Regions from separate parts of the Homo sapiens genome. Here all the other regions are linked to region 1. Evidence: promoter capture Hi-C in 16 types of primary human blood cells and fetal thymus (Javierre and others, 2016). All regions are on one chromosome and are shown on one strand. The core of a region is centred on a gene start or on the middle of the fragment in contact, and the rest is flanking DNA. Distances in the headings are between cores, read along the strand shown.

The links. Contacts are between HindIII fragments. The CHiCAGO score rates a contact against its expected background, and 5 or more counts as called.
Region 2: a fragment that was not itself captured here is called in contact with the fragment with the promoter of CNPPD1 in region 1 in 10 of 17 cell types (naive B cells, total B cells, naive CD4 T cells and 7 more); the score reaches 9.6 in naive B cells.
Region 3: a fragment that was not itself captured here is called in contact with the fragment with the promoter of CNPPD1 in region 1 in 4 of 17 cell types (naive B cells, total B cells, naive CD8 T cells and 1 more); the score reaches 7.0 in naive B cells.

Annotation. Positions count from the first base shown.
Region 1 is chr2:219,174,556-219,179,679 of GRCh38, reverse strand. It overlaps CNPPD1 (cyclin Pas1/PHO80 domain containing 1), which reads left to right and starts at 2,755. Exons shown (of 8, transcript NM_015680.6): 1 at 2,755-2,920; 2 at 3,349-3,457; 3 at 4,008-4,089; 4 at 4,572-4,692; 5 at 4,774-4,902. The coding sequence starts at 2,852. It overlaps RETREG2 (reticulophagy regulator family member 2), which reads right to left and starts at 1,405. Exons shown (of 9, transcript NM_024293.6): 1 at 1,047-1,405; 2 at 652-758. The coding sequence starts at 1,327. RefSeq lists silencers at 971-1,040, 2,491-2,540, 2,611-2,820, 2,941-3,000, 2,839-3,133 and 2 more and an enhancer at 1,210-1,710. The HindIII fragment of the contact is 4,554 bases long and covers 1-3,805 here.
Region 2 is chr2:218,872,761-218,877,884 of GRCh38, reverse strand. WNT6 (Wnt family member 6) reads right to left here. Exons shown (of 4, transcript NM_006522.4): 4 at 3,652-4,501. The coding sequence ends at 4,040. It also overlaps a transcript of WNT10A not described here. Among named protein-coding and RNA genes, the nearest start is that of WNT10A, 5.5 kb to the left of the region's middle. The HindIII fragment of the contact is 2,337 bases long and covers 948-3,284 here.
Region 3 is chr2:218,902,336-218,907,459 of GRCh38, reverse strand. It overlaps LINC01494 (long intergenic non-protein coding RNA 1494), which reads left to right. Exons shown (of 5, transcript NR_110238.1): 4 at 414-621. Among named protein-coding and RNA genes, the nearest start is that of WNT10A, 24 kb to the right of the region's middle. The HindIII fragment of the contact is 1,258 bases long and covers 2,285-3,542 here.

The DNA of each region.
Region 1 (5,124 bases), core at 1,506-4,005:
CTCCCCAAGGCAGAAATAGTTGTCCCTCCTCTGCAGCCCCAGAGCACCTTCTTCAGATGCCAATGGGGGAGCTGTTACATGTTTTTGTTTGCGTCTGTCTCCTTTAGACATTACCCTTCTCCAACATAAGAACTAGATTTTACTCATGCTTATCTCCCAAGCAACTCACATACAGCCTGTCACCTACTAAGTAAATTATATGGATAACAAGAAAAACAACACTGACGTTCTATTTATAAGGCTTATATGTGAAACACTATCATAAGTATAGCATGTGTATTAACTCATTAATCCTCTCCTCACCTCTCTATGAAGTAAGTTCTATCATCTGTGTTTTACAGATAAGGAAATTGAGACAAACAGAAATTGAGCTACTTTTACAAGGTCACAGCAATGGTAAATGGCAGAACAGAGAATGGAACCCAGGTAATATGGCTGCAGACTTCACCATCTTAACCACTGCACCTACAGTAGTATTAGTTTGGGAAAGGGGCAATTCTCATTTTAGGGAATTCCGTACAAAAAGGAAGTGGGCCATGCCTGGGAGGCAGGTGGCCTGCTGTACGTTCCCCTCGCCACTTAACCCCACCCAGCGGAATCAGGCACCAAGCAAGTACCCAATGGGTGCTTACTGAATGAAGAAACACTCACCTGAAACGTCAGGGAGAAAGCGAGGCTGCCAGAGATCCAGCAGAAAATAGGCCAAAAGTGAGACGCTGAGTAGGAAGAAGGGCCGGAGGGACGAGGAAGACAGCAACCTTAGGGAGAGACAGGCACCTCAGCAGTGAGTGGGTGAGACAGGCTCATGCATCCATCTCAGAAGGTGGAAAGGCGCCTACTGATGGGGTAATGGCACCTCCAGGCCTAACTCGCGACTCACGACTCAGAGATAGAAAAAAATGGGCAATTCAAGCGGATGTCAGCCTGCAAAAACTGGGGATGGGTCATGCCCCCAGGCCAAGTGATAACCCAGAAAGGGGAATGGTGCTCTCGACCCCTCCCTCCCCCGCTCATCCCGGCCCCGCCCCCTCCTCCGCGGCCGTTACCAGAAGAGGCCGTTGAGCGCGGCCGCCGTGACCAGGCTGTGCAGCGGCTTCTCCCACACCAGCAACCGCTGCGCCGCCGCCAGCACCGCCTCCCAGCCGCGGAGCCGCAGCCACAGCGTCGTGGCCAGGCGTCCCACCGCCTCGGCCGTGGCCGCCTCCTCCTCTGCCTCACTGGTGGCCTCACTCATGCCTAGGCTCAGACCCAGACCCAGGCCCAGGCTCAGGCCCATCCCCGGCCCCCCACCCGCGCCAGTGTTACCCCCGCCACCGCCGCTCGCCATAGCCCCGCCGCAGCCGCCGCCCGAGCCCGCGAGGAGCCAGGGCTGCGCGGCCGCCGCCGGGGGCGCGTCAGGCGGAAGGGGGCGCCGCGGAGGACAGCAGAGGTTGCGGACGAGCGTCACGTGACTGCGGAGCGCTGAGCCCGTCACGTGACGCGGCCTAACCCCCCCCCCCCCGGATAGGGCGGGCCGCGCATGCGCCCCGGCGGCTGCCGCTGACACTGCGCCTACACAGGTTCGTTTTCTGGTTGACGAAGTACCCCGGGTTCCGAGTCCGGGTCTAGGTCCAGGCAGTCGAGCCCGTTTTCTTATCCCACAGTAGGCAGGGCGGCTAGGGAGTGTGGTGCTGCCCCGGTATCCCCGTGTGGGGCAGGAAGTGGGCTTCCAGATTCCCAGTATCCCCGGTAGGGTCTGCTTCTGCTCGCTCGGGAAGGGCGGTGGCCGTCCCATTACTCAACCAACCCTCAACGCACTGGTCCTCCCAGTTCCCTCCCCTCAGTGGGTAAACAAACACACACCAGCGCTTGACTCGACAGACTCGAAAACAACATCTACTCAGAAAAGTTGTTTCTTTCCTATCTCCTTAAACTTTCCCACTTCCACATATCGGAGCTTCTTCCCACCTCGGCCTACTCAAGCATGAGATCGGAGGCGGGAGGTGGGTTTCAACACAAAACCTTGGGTAGATGCAGTTTACTTTTGGGTGGACGTGTTGACACGTTTTGAGGCCTTACATTCGCTTAAGATCACAGAATTTCCTCAGTAGCCTTAGGTTTAAAAGTTCAAATTACAGTAAAAAAAAAAAACACCCTGAGTTTCTCTTCCTTTTCATAGTTCACCCACTGCTAAATTTCCTGTGTGTCCTTTCAGACGCTTTTCATATGCATTGCTGAGTATGTATAATATCTCTCCTAAAAAGCAACTGGGAACAACTTCCTGTTGTGCGTTTCGTCTTATTCACATTAACTTCTCCATTGCTACGCCTGGCTTGTTCATCCTCAGTGCGGCGTGGTCCCCCCTACGAATTGTCCCCATTTCTCAGAGGCGCCTGGGGCTTGGCCACGTTCCGTGAGACCAGGAGTTCGAGTCCGGTTCCTGCCCGCGGGTCGGGGCGGGAGGCTGGGCCAGATGGGCGGCAGGAAGTGCCAGGCGCTGACTTGCAGGCGGCACCCCCGCGGCTTGTAAACGCCGGGCGGACGCGGCACAGGCGGAGTACGCGCCTCGCAGCCGCATCTCCTTTCTGCTCCGCGAGGTGAGCGTCGCACGGACGCTTGACACCTCCCTTCCCGGGCCTAGGGCCCCCGCGCGCCGCGCCAAGCCCGGGGCGGAACAGGAAGAGGCGCCCAGTTCAGCCCGGGCCCCGCCTTCCGCCGCCGGGGGGAGGGAGCTGCGAGGGCGAGGGCGAGGACGGCGGCCCGCCCCGGGGAGGCAGGCTGGCAGGTGGACAGGCGGGCAAGGACAGCTCCGCGAGCCCCCTACAACTCGTTTCCTTCCGTTCACCTTCGCAGGGCGGCGACTGGCGGCGCGATGGACCTGACCGGGCTCCTGCTGGACGAAGAAGGCACCTTCTCCCTCGCCGGCTTCCAGGACTTCACGGTGAGTGGGGGTCCCGCCCCCTCCCCGGCCTCCCGGCGCGCCCCTCCCGGCCTGAGCGGCGCTGCGAGCTCGCCTGACTGCTGTGCCGGGACTGGGCGGCAGCTGCTCGAGCAGTGCTTCCTTGAGGCCGCGGCTGCTTGGGCCGGGAGGGAGAGCCGCGGAGTATAGGAATGGGCGTAGGGGTGGCCACACGAGGGCCCTTCTCGGAGAACTTCTCCCGGGGAACCCTCGATGGGGGTGGGGGCATTCCTCCCTCTATGGACCAGGCTGCCATTGGCAAGCGATTTACAGAACGCGGGTCTGGGTAAGGCACGGGCCCCCTAGCAGCGAGGCCGGCCTGTCCCCTGCCCCGCCTTCCAGCCCAGAGCCAGGATCTGCATCATACCTTTCCGTGCCCTTCACCCTCCGCTGCCCCTGCCCTGTTTCAGTTCCTCCCAGGACACCAGAAGCTGAGTGCCCGGATCCGAAGGAGGCTCTACTATGGCTGGGACTGGGAAGCCGACTGTAGCCTGGAGGAGCTCTCCAGCCCGGTGGCAGGTTAGGCAGTGTTGTGTGACTGGACAAGTGAGAAGCATGAAAATGGGATTGTCATCAGGCAGAAAATGGCTCGAGGTTTGCCCCGTGGCTACACTGTCTCTTCATTGCTAGCTCGTTGGTACTTGGTTCAAGAGGGCAGTTTGCATTTCCCATTCTTTTAGCCCAAATGAATAAAAAACATTGCTGCCACATATATCTATACAAATCACTCTTGATTTATATATTGAAAAGCTAATTTTCGAAGGATATCCATCATATGTTCCCCAAGTAAACAAGGCATGTTTATGCCACAGATGAACAGCAGTGACAGATAAATCTGGATAGTTTGATGTGACAGGGCAATAAGCTTTCCTGTTAGAATGAGCTGAAATTCGAACTTGGAATGGGCTTTTTGTCTCAGTGTGTGAGAATTTGATCTCTATTTTGTTACTATGGTCCTGTCCCCAAGGCCTCAGAAAATACAGATCTGGGTCTTCTGCTAGCAGTGGGGACTGGTGTGTTGGGTGTGGGTGCTTGTTTGCTCACTCGGCCTTCCTTCTGTCCCTTGCAGACATTGCTGTCGAACTGCTCCAGAAGGCAGCCCCCAGCCCTATTCGCCGACTCCAGAAGAAATATGTAGCTCATGTGTCCCGGTGAGCCTGGAAATGAGGATAGGATGAGAGTGTTTGGGCCCTAGAGAAAGGGGAATCGTCTTTTCTTTCTTTTCTTTCTTTCTTTTTTTTTTTTTTGAGACAGTCTCACTTTGTCACCCAGGCTGGAGTGCAGTGGCACAATCTCGGCTCACCGCAACCTCCGCCTCCTGGGTTCCAGTGATTCTTGTGCCTCAGCCTCCCCAGTAGCTGGGACTACAGGCACACACCACCGCCCCTGGCTAATTTTTGTATTTTTAGTAAAGACGGGGTTTCACCATGTTGGCCAGGCTGGTGTCAAACTCCTGGTGTCAGTCCACCCACCTTGGTCTTCCAAAGTGCTGGGATTACAGACATGAGCCACCGTGCCCAGCCAGGAATAGTTTTTTTCCAAAGATAAGAGGTAAAGACAGGAACGAGCATCATAAGACTTGCAAGAGCTGAAGGACCCTTGGGTTTAATTAGTGATCCTTTCTACCACCCAGGGAGGCATGCATCTCCCCATGTGCTATGATGCTGGCTCTGGTGTACATTGAACGGCTCCGGCACCGAAACCCAGACTACTTGCAGCATGTGTCATCCTCTGACTTGTTCCTGATCTCCATGGTAAGACACCCCCTCCCCATCTCCCTAAAGAGCCAAGAGCCTGCTATGAGCTCTGCTCCACCACTTCTGGTTCCTCTGCAGATGGTGGCCAGTAAGTACCTCTATGATGAAGGGGAGGAGGAGGAGGTCTTCAACGACGAATGGGGAGCTGCTGGGGGTGTGGCCGTGCCCACTCTCAATGCCTTGGAGAGGGGCTTCCTGAGTGCCATGGTGAGCAGCTGTTCTCTCTCTTGCTCAGTTTCCCTGGCCCATCTTTAACCGTCCTTTAGTCCTTTGTTCTCTCTCAGTCTTCTGTTGGTTCGTCATTTCTCTTCCTGTCCTCCTCCTGCCTTTGTGTTAGTGTCTTCCTTTCCTATCTCTTCAGTACTAACCAGTTTTTGGAGATTCGTAGAGCAGTAAGGCCAAGAGCAGAACATTTCCTCGCCTCCTCTA
Region 2 (5,124 bases), core at 867-3,366, 300 kb after region 1:
GTCTTGCTGAAGAAGAACGCCAAGGAGCCACAGACCAATAAGGAGGCTCTTCATTCCATTGTCCAGGCCTCAGAGGCCACCAACCCTCAGCAAGGTAAGGGGGAATGGCTTGCTGCTGCAGTCTCCCCAAACTCCCAATGTGTTTGGTCATTGAAAGGGAAGGGAATTGTTCCCCGAGCCCGTGGCCTCAGGCTGATCCTAGGCCTTCCACTCGGCCTCCTCACCCATCTGCCTGTGTTCCGCCTGTTCCTGATGTGGTCACACACACATCTGGGGTGCCTCTTTGCACTTCCCCCATCTCCCCAGTTCCACATGTCCCCTGCCATTCAGCCAGCAGGGGACTTTGATGGCTCAGACTGCCTGAGGCTGAGCAGCTGGATGAGCAGGGGTGGGTGGTGGTGGGAACTCTACTTCCGGCCCCTTCCCAGGCAGCAGGGCAACAGCACAGATCTATCTCTGGGCTCAAAGAAGATAAGGCTAGAAGTCCCAATGGTGCCTTCTGGTAATCACTCCCACCCTTCATAGAAGGCAGTGCCCAGACGCCTTCAGGGCTTGGTAACAGAAGATGGACCAGTAACATGTGGCCAGCAGTTTAAAGATGGAAGTGCATTCTCACAATGTGCTAAAAAGCAATCAGGGACCCCTATTAGGTGATAGGAAGTGCTCAGATAGGTTAACTGACTTGACCAAGGTCAAGCTAGCAAACAAGGCATTTTTCATTGTACCATACAACTTCCTCTGAATTCCTTTTAACCTGCCTAGAATGGTGCCAGTTCATGCCACTTCCCCAGCTTCCCTCCCTGGCATTGTGGAGGAAGATGTCCAGCATCTTCCACCCTATCTCACCCCCTGCAGGACCCAGCAGTGGTAGAGTCTGGGAGGCTGGCATCCCAGCCCTAGGTCTGGGCCAGCCCAGACGTCCCAGACAGTCTGGAACCCTAGAAGCTTGACCCAAGCTGTCTGTAGGTCTCCTTGCTTCCTTTCAGTCCTATCCTCTCCTGCCCACCACTCTCTGAGTTTCCCAGATGTCCTGCAGGTCCTGTCTGTCGCTCCCTGTTAATAGAGAAGCTGGGCTCCGCATGCCCTCTGGTGGTCTCTGAGAGAAGTGCAGGAGTTTGGGTTTTGGGCTTGTTTGGTTTTTTTGTTTGTTTGAAGATAAGAGCAGAGCTTTGGGGAAGGCAGATCTGTGAATATAAACCTTGCCCTCAGGGAGCTTCATTTCTCCTCTATGTGGACCATAATGTATTTCCACTGTCTCCTTTGGTAAGTTAACAGAGTTTCCTTTGGTCAAGGAGTTCTAAGTCCAAATTCTCCATGACTTCCCTGAGGCCCAGACATTTGACCCAAGGGAGCCAAGAGGAGGCAGAAAGGAAAACCCTGGTGCCTCAACCTTCCCACTGCAGCCTGACACCCCTCCCCACCATGAGCCTTGAGGATTGAAGCAGGCTAGGTCACCGAGTGAATGCAGGGGCATTGCGGGGGAAGGACAGGGGTCCTGGAAGCCACGGTGAGGGTCTGTCACATCCAGAACGAGCTCCCTTTCCTTCTGTTTCATTTGAAGGACTGTGCTTTGCTCCCTGTGCCTGCCCCACCCCCCTGTGGTTCTAGAGAGGCTGTCAATCCCAGGCATGGTAGTACATCTCCCTAGACACCATTATTGGTTCAGGAATAGGCAAATGACCAAGCTGAACTAAGCAAGGTCTTCCTTGGGACTTCTGTTGGAGACAACTGGGAAAGTCATTCTTCTGCTTTTGGATCTAAGACTGCATATAGAGCTGTCATGGAGAAAGTCTGCAGGAGGAGATAATGAGGACAGTATGCCAAGAGAGGCAGAGATAAGCAGAAACAATAGATGCAGAGGCGAGGGAGAGGGAAGGAGATGAGAAAGAAGCCTGTGACACCACGTGAGCCCCTGGGTTCAGCTGTACCTGAATTCAGACTAACCTCTGGACTTCCCTGGTATAAAAGCCATTCATTATTTCTGTTTGGCCTCAGCTAAAAGTCAGGTATCTTCATTTGCAATCAGGGCCTGCCCAATATCTGCAAAGCATCATATGTCTGTCCCCATTCTCACAGTAACTATCATTTACTAAACATATGTTTGACAAATTATGTGTCACAAGCTATGCTAAAGGCTTTCATATCTCAAAAAAAAATTCTCCCAACAATCCTGTGAGGGTGTGGGACAGATTATGATGGCTGCAAATTATTTGCCACTCCTCCCATTGAGAGGTGGAATTAATTTTCCCTCCCTTTGAATTTTGCCTGGCTCTGTGAACTGTTTTGACCAATACACAGTTACAGTGATGCTATGTAACTTCCAAAGCTGGACTTGAGAAGATACTTACAGCTTCTGCCTTCAAGTTTGGTACACTTTCCTTTGAAAGTCAGTTTTGGCCGGGCGCGGTGGCTCACGCCTGTAATCCCAGCACTTTGGGAGGCCAAGGCAGGCGGATCACGAGGTCAGGAGATCAAGACCGTCTTGGCTAACACGGTGAAACCCCATCTCTACTAAAAATACAAAAAAACGTATCCAAGTGTGGTGGTGGGCGCCTGTAGTCCCAGCTACTTGGGAGGCTGAGGCAGGAGAATGGCATGAACCCAGGAGGCAGAACTTGCAGTGAGCTGAGATCACGTCACTGCACTCCAGCCTGGGCAACAGAGCGAGACTCCATCTCAAAAAAAAAAAAAAAAAAAAAAAAAAAAAAAAAAAAAAAAAAAAAAAGAAAGTCAGTCTTATGTAAGAAGTCTGACTATCCTAAGGCTAACATGCAGCGAGGAAGCCCAGGTTAGCCACATGGAGAGAATGAGAGCACAAGAGAAGCTCTGTGCCCTAGACATGTGAGTGGGGGCTTCTTGGACTGTCCAGCACAGCACAGTGGAGACTCCAGCAGAATGCAGCCATGTGAACCCAAGCCAATGGTTCTGCTATATAGAGCAGACCTACCAAGCTGAGTTCTGACCAATCATGACCTCAAAAATCCTGAGAAGTGATTACTTTGGGGTTGTTTGTTATGTAGCAATGGATAACTGAAACAGAGCGAAATCCCTTTGTATAAAGAAAATGAGGCTAATTTGGCCTCTGTTGTAAAGTTCTAAGCAGCAGCACCAACTGCAAACCCAGAGTGTCTGACCCCAAAGCTCATTTTTTGTCCTCCATACCTTGATGGGGGAGTCATTCCCCATTGCAGTATTTGGACTGGAGGAAAGTTGGAGGCTCTGGGTCCTGGAAGTTGGGCTATGCCATCCCTCTTTCTCTCTGGAGGAAGATGAGAGCTCAAGCTTCAGCTCTGGAGAATCCAGAACTGCCCTCTGTCTCCTCACTTTCACCAGTAGCTTCCCAAGAGGAACCAGAAGGAAGGAAATATTGTTGGGTGTCAAGAGGTATGCATCAGAAGCTTCTGATGCCCCTGTCCCTTTAAAGAGGAATTGCTAGTTCTTCTCCAGCTTGCAGATCCAGGACCTAGATGTGTGACAGGAGTGAACAAGAAGAATGCCAAGGGGAGATAGCGAGTTTCCAGGAGAGGCCAACCTGGTCGGGAGATAGGGACCCAGGTGATAGCCCCTGAGGTGCTAGTTCTAGCAAAACCACCTTCTTCTGGAGCCTGGCAGCCTGAAGATCAGTCTCCCCCAAAACTGTGGGTCCAGCCCTGGTGGTTTAAATATCTTTATTGATACTAACCTCACCCACCATCCTGTGGCCAGCAGTTCTGGGGAGCCCAGTATCCAGAGGCCTTTAGACTGGCTTTTTTCCAGTCTAAAAAACTGTTTCCTCCTAGAGGCCAAGGGGAGGGAGGGCCTGTACAGTGTCCTTTAAACGCTCCCCGAGCGCCTTTTCGGGGCCGTCTGGCGCCCTGGGCCTTCGTGGGTGGGCGTTCCTCTCAAGCCCCTCGCCTCACCATTTCCAGAGCCCTGGGAGTTGGGCTTTGGCAGGGAGAGGCTGGGCTCGAGCGGCGAGAGGCGCCCGGTGCCGGTGCCCTGAGGTCCCACAGGTGCGAGCCACCGCTGCGCGAAGTCAGTCTAGCGGCCGGGCGGCGGGTCACAGGCAGAGGCTGAGCTCCTTGCGCACACGGCAGCGGTGGCACTGTACTACGCAGCACCAGTGGAAGCGGCACAGGCAGTTCTCTTCGAGCTGCACGCTCTCCTGGCGGTGCCCGCGGCCGCAGCACAGCAGGTCGCAGCCGCTGAGGTCCGGGGCGCTGCTATTGCAGGCGCGACCGCGCGTGCCGGGGGAGCCGGTGCGTCGGTTGGGGGCGCAGAAGTCGGGCGAATCGGCGGCGTAGAGGAGGTCCGCTCGGCCCGGCGGCTTGAGCGTGCGGACGGCGGGCAGCAGGGCCTTGCCGTCGTTGGTGCCCATGACGCGTGAGGCGCCGTGGAAGCGCTCCAGCAGCCGCGCGCCCACCTCGCGAAATGGAGGCAGCTTCTGCCAGCAGGTGCGCAGCGCGCATGATCCCGACAGCCCGTGGCATTTGCACTCGGTGCGCGTGTGGCTCCGCACGGCCTGCGGGAGGCAGAGGGGCGGACGCATGTGGACAGGTAGGGGGTGCAGGGAAGGGCCCAGCGGATGGACAGAAAATAAGATTGGGAATGGGAGGTGAAAGGAAGAGAGGAAAATGCAGACAAAAGGAGACCGCAAGTTCAGGGGGAGGAAATCAAGGAAAGGACAACTCGGAGGGGAGGAGCAGGAGGAATGGTGAGGATGGAGGAATATGATGATGACGAAGAGGGGAGACGGGGACAATATGCAGCGCAGAGATTCCAGGGTCCAAAGGCAGGGGGTGGGGGAGAAAGCAGAATGGACAGCAGGGGTGAGATTCTCTTTGGAGGAGGGGAGAGGTGGCAGCTGTCGAAGTCTAGCTCTCCTGCCTACCTGGCCCCCTCATTCCTACCCCTCACGGCCCCCAGGCCGGGCTGAGCACAGACGCAGAGCCAGCCTCCTGGGCATCTGTCTCCGTCACCCCTCCCCAACCCTCTCGGCAGGTATGTGGGCCTGTCCGGACATTCCTCTTCAGGCCCCCTCCTCCCCCTGCCCGATGCCTCAGGCCCGAACCCTAGAGGACACGGTATGTATGGCGATGTCCCTGGAGAACGCTAGAACGGAGGCATGGGGTGCAGGAGGGCCCG
Region 3 (5,124 bases), core at 1,664-4,163, 270 kb after region 1:
CAAAGTGCTGGGATTACAGCCACCACACCCAGACTTAACTTGTTATTGAAGTAACGTACAGAAAAATACACAAATCCTATGTGCACTTAACTTTTAACACAATGAACAAAGTAGTGTAATCAGGTCCCTGAGGAAGAAACAAATCATTACCAGCTCCCCAAACCCTTCTCCTGTTTCCCTCTATTCACTGCATCTCCTACAGGGATAACCACTATCATGCCTTTTTATTTCATTTTATTTATTTTATTTTATTTTATTTATTTTATTTTTTGGAGATGGGGTCTCACTTTGTCACCCAAGCTTAAGTGCAGTGGCATGATCATAGCTCACTGTAGCTTCGACCTCCTGGGTTGGGATTACAGGCCACTATCCTGCCTTCCAACTGCATAAGTTAACTTTGCCTGTTTTTGCAGCTGCCACTGGGATCATACAGTGTGCTCTCATCTGGAACTTCCCACATCTCCACGTGCCCTCACCTTCAGTGAGAGTCTGAGAAGAAGCCGGGTGGGGTTGCTGCCCACATGGTCGGGGCTGCTGCCAATGCCACTCATCTCACCGTCACTTGCTGCCTCTCTGCCTGCCCCCTGGTCCATGGTTCTCTGACATCTCTCTCTCCTTGAGGTGGGGAAGCATGTTCTGTTTCTCATTCTCAGCTCTTTCATAAGGAGTTCCCACAGCAGAGATGTCTGTGCCCTAGCGAGCCCGTTCTTGCCCTATACCCCAAATGTTTCCCTTTCCACCAGGAAGGCCCTGAGGCCTGAGGGAGTGAGGGTAGAGGTGCACCAAGCCCCAGTGGTCATGCCCAGCCTCACAACATTCCAAATAGCACTCCTCCCTCTGCCCTGTTCGGCGGACCCCTTCCCTGTCCAGTGAAACCTTTTTCTCACTCAGGGTGATGAGCTCTCCGGCCTCTGTTGTTCCTCCCCTGCAGTCTGCCATCCACTACAGACCCCCAGCCCACCAGACACTGGGGAACCCCAACTGTGGCCATGGTTTACTTCCTCTTCCAAGGATTTCTGATGCCATGCCGGTTAAGGGACATGGCTTAAGGGTCTAGGTATGTTACATATGAGGAGAGTAAGGCTCAGAGAAATTTAAGGAATTTTCCAAAACCATATAATTTATAAGTGATGAGAATTAGACCTCAGAAGTGCCATTTGATGCCAGGCTAGAAGGCTAAGTGTCTGCTAAAGGCCACCATTCAGTGAGACTAAAATGGGTGAGACGTCTAGGTACTTTACATATATTACATCTAGTCCTCAAAACAACTTCAGCAGATGAGTGTTTTTATTTCAATATAGCAGATACAGAAACTGAGGTCCAGAGAACTTAATGACTTTGCCTTAGGTCACAGGGATAGTGAGAGACTAAACTAGGATTCAATCCCTCCCGCCGCACAGGCTGACCCCAAAGCCTGGCTCTTTCCTCTGCACTGTGCCATGCTCACTGGAAGGATTTTGACAAGAGCAGATATGAGTGGACATGGAGCTAAGGCAGGACAGTTGGGGTACATTCCAGAGAGAGGGAAACATGGACCACAGAGGGGCTGTTTCCATTTTCTATTACTGAGTAACAAACCGCTCCAAAATTCAGTGGCTTAAAAATAACCATTTACATCCCACAGTCCTGTGGGTTGACTACAGTCAGCTGGGCAGTTCTCACGTGGGGTCTCTCAAGCAGTTCAGTTAGATGGTGGCTAAGGCTGGAGTCATCTGAAGGCTCAACTCGGCTGGATATCCAAGATGACTTTTTAAAAATTTATTTATTTATTTATTTATTTTTGAAGACACAGCCTCACTTCGTCACCCAGGCTGGACTGTAGTGGCGCAATCTCACTCACTGCAACCTCCACCTCCCAGGTTCAAGTGATTCTCATGCCTCAGCCTCCCGAGAAGCTGGGACTACAGGCATGTGCCACTATGTCTGGCTAATTTTTTGTATTTTTAGTAGAGATGGGGTTTCGCCATGTTGGCCAGGATGGTCTTGAACTCCTGGCCTCAAGTTATCCGCCTGCCTCGGCCTCCCAAAGTGCTGAGATTACAGGTGTGAACCACTGAGCCCAGCCCCAAGATGACTTTTTAAAGTCACATGTCTGGCACCTCATCTGAATTGGCTGGAACTGAAGGGGCCTGCCCAGGCATTACTCTCTCTATACAGCCTTCCCATGTGGCTTGTTTCGGGTTCCTCATAGCATGGTAGTCTCTGGGTAGACAGACCTCATACACGGTGATTGGCTTGCCCCAGAGTGAACATTCCGAGCGACTGAGGCAAAAACTGCAAAGCTTCCTATTCCCTCTCTTCAGCAGTCATGCAGCTTCGCTTCCACAGCACACTCAGTGAAAAGGAAGCATGGACTGGCCCTTTCAAGGGGAGGGGACAATACACAGGTGTGAAGCATGATTCAAGGCGGACCACCTTTGGGGCCCAGCTATTACAGGGGCTGAGGCAGGAAAGGACTGCTCAGGGAACTGCACACAGTCATGCTTCAGTGGAACATGGTGTGGAAGTGAGAAAAAACTGGAGATGATCGTTTGTGGCATATGGTGGAGGGCTTCAATGCTCAGGAACCTGCATATGGATACACACTGGAGTCTTTAGCTGCCCAGCATCTGAGCCCCCTTCATATGTTGGTGGAGCCTCCCTAATGTGAGTCTTAGTGAGAAGTCAGATACTTGCTCACCTGGCCCCTAGCAGGAAGATCACAGCCAAATCAATGCTCCCAGTCAGGACTCTAAATCTTCAACAAGTGACCCAAGGAGGAAGAGGACTGTTTATAATTCATCCCAGAGGTGGCAGCAGCAAGTGCTCAGGGTGGTGGTAGCCATGTGGGAAGCAGCCCCCAAGCCCCTTAATCAGGCTGCACTTGGGACAGGATTTAGCTAAAGTTCTAGCTGCCTAGCTTCTCTTGGCTCCTGCTTGCTTCCTGAGCCTGATTCTTGAGGCTTCCTGTCAATTCTTTGAGTTCCCTGATGTCATCCCAGTAAATTCCTCTTCTACTAAGTGAACCAGAGTCTGTTTCTGTTGTTTGCAATTAAGAACCCAAATTGGTACAAAGATCCATTGAGAGCTTTAGTCAGAGGAAATGACATGATCAGAGCACTTCGTGGGAGAGAAAAACAGAACAATAGGATAGGGATGGATTGAAGAGGAAGAAAGAGGAATGACAGAGGCTAGTTGGAAGGTCGTTGTGATGTTTGAGGTGTGTGGTGAACTAGGATATTGACCATGTGAATGAAGTGGAAGAATAAGCAGATCTTGGCCACTGATTGAATATAGAAAGGAGAAGAGAAGGTGAGAGTCCAAGTTTACACCAGTTTTGAGGTTCAGTGACTAAGAAAATGATGATGTGACAAAGAGAAACAAGCAAGTTAAGGAGAACTGGTTTGGAGGGGAAAGTCATTCATTCACTTATTCAACAAATATTAAATGCCTGGTCTATGCCAAGCACTGTGCTAGGCATTGAGAAAAGAACAGTAAACAAAACAAAGTCTCAGCCCTTAGCAAATACATACATAAGATAATGAATCTGCATTAATAAAGCTTGAGCCGGGCATGGTGGCTCACGCCTGTAATCCCAGCACTTTGGGAGGCTGAGGTAGGTGGATCACTTGGGGTCAGAAGTTCAAGACCAGCCTGGCCAACATAGTGAAACCCCATCTCTACTAAAAATACAAAAAATGAGCTGGGCGTGGTGGCAGGCCACCTGTAATCCCAGCCACTCAGGAGGCTGATGCAGGAGAATTGCTTGAACCTGGGAGGCAGAGGAGTCAGAGGTTGCTGTGAGCTGAGATGGCGCCATTGCACTCCAGCCTGGGTGACAGAGCAGGACTCTGTCTCAAAAATAAAATAAAATAAAATAAAGCTTGAGTGGGTGGTATCACAGGCATACATTAAAACATGTCTAGCTGGCAGCTGGAACTTCAAGAAAGATCACAGGAGACCAGGTGTGGTGGCTCACACCTGTAATCCCAGCACTTTGGGAGGCCAAGATGGGTGGATCACCTGAGGTCAGGAATTCAAGACCTGCCTGGCCAACATGGCGAAACCCTGTCTCTACTAAAATACAAAAATTAGCCCGGCATGGTGGTGCACACCTGTAATACCAGCTACTCAGGAGGCTAAGGCAGGAGAATTGCTTGAACCCAGGAGGCAGAGGTTGCAGTAAGCTGAAATCACACCACTGCATTCCAGCTTGGGTGACAGAGCGAGACTCTGTCTCAAAAGAAAAAAAAAGAAAGATCATAGGAAGGAAGTTTGGGCCTGAAGACAGAAGTTAGTAGTGATTTCTGTAGACATTTATTTATTTATTCATTCATTCACTTATATTTATTGAGTTCCTACTATGTACTTAATACCATTCTTGGCATTAGAAATACAGCAAAAAACAACAGAGTCTCAGTTCTCGTAGAGTTTCCATTATAGAGTGTGGAAGCAGAGCATAAAGAAATACACAAATATGGTCAAATATGTGATCTATACTATGAAGAAAAATAAAGCAAGGTAAAGGTAAGAGGAAGTTTGCTATGTTATACAGGATGTTCTGCCAAGGCTCCTCTTTTCTATGTTTATTTTGTGTGGGTTTTTTTTTCTTTTTTGAGACAGGGTCTTGCCCTGTCAATCAGGCTGGAGTACAGTGGCTTGATCATAGCTCAATGTAGACTTGAACTCCTGGGATCAAGTGATCCTCCCGCCTCAGTCTTTCAAAGCACTGGGATTCCAGGCATGAGGCACCATACAAGGCCCCTCTCATAAGGAGATATTTCAGTGAGGTCCTGAATGAAGGAAGACAACATTCATGCGGTTATCTGGAGGAAACCGATTTCAGGCAGAGGGAGGAGGTGCAAAGGCCCTGAGGCAAGACAGTGTTTGGATTGCTCAAGGAATTTGCAGGAGGCCAGTGTGGCTAAAGTAAAGTGGATGAGAGAGAGTTGGAGGAGAAAATGAGGTGAAAGAGGTAGCAGGGAGCCAATCCTATCACGCCTTGTAAGTCATGGTGACCTGTAAGTCTCAGCTCACTGCAACCTCCCCCTCCCGGGTTCAAGAGATTCTCCTGCCTCAGCCTCCCGAGTAGCTGGGACTACAGGTGCACATCACCACGCCCGGCTAATTTGTACTTAGTACTTT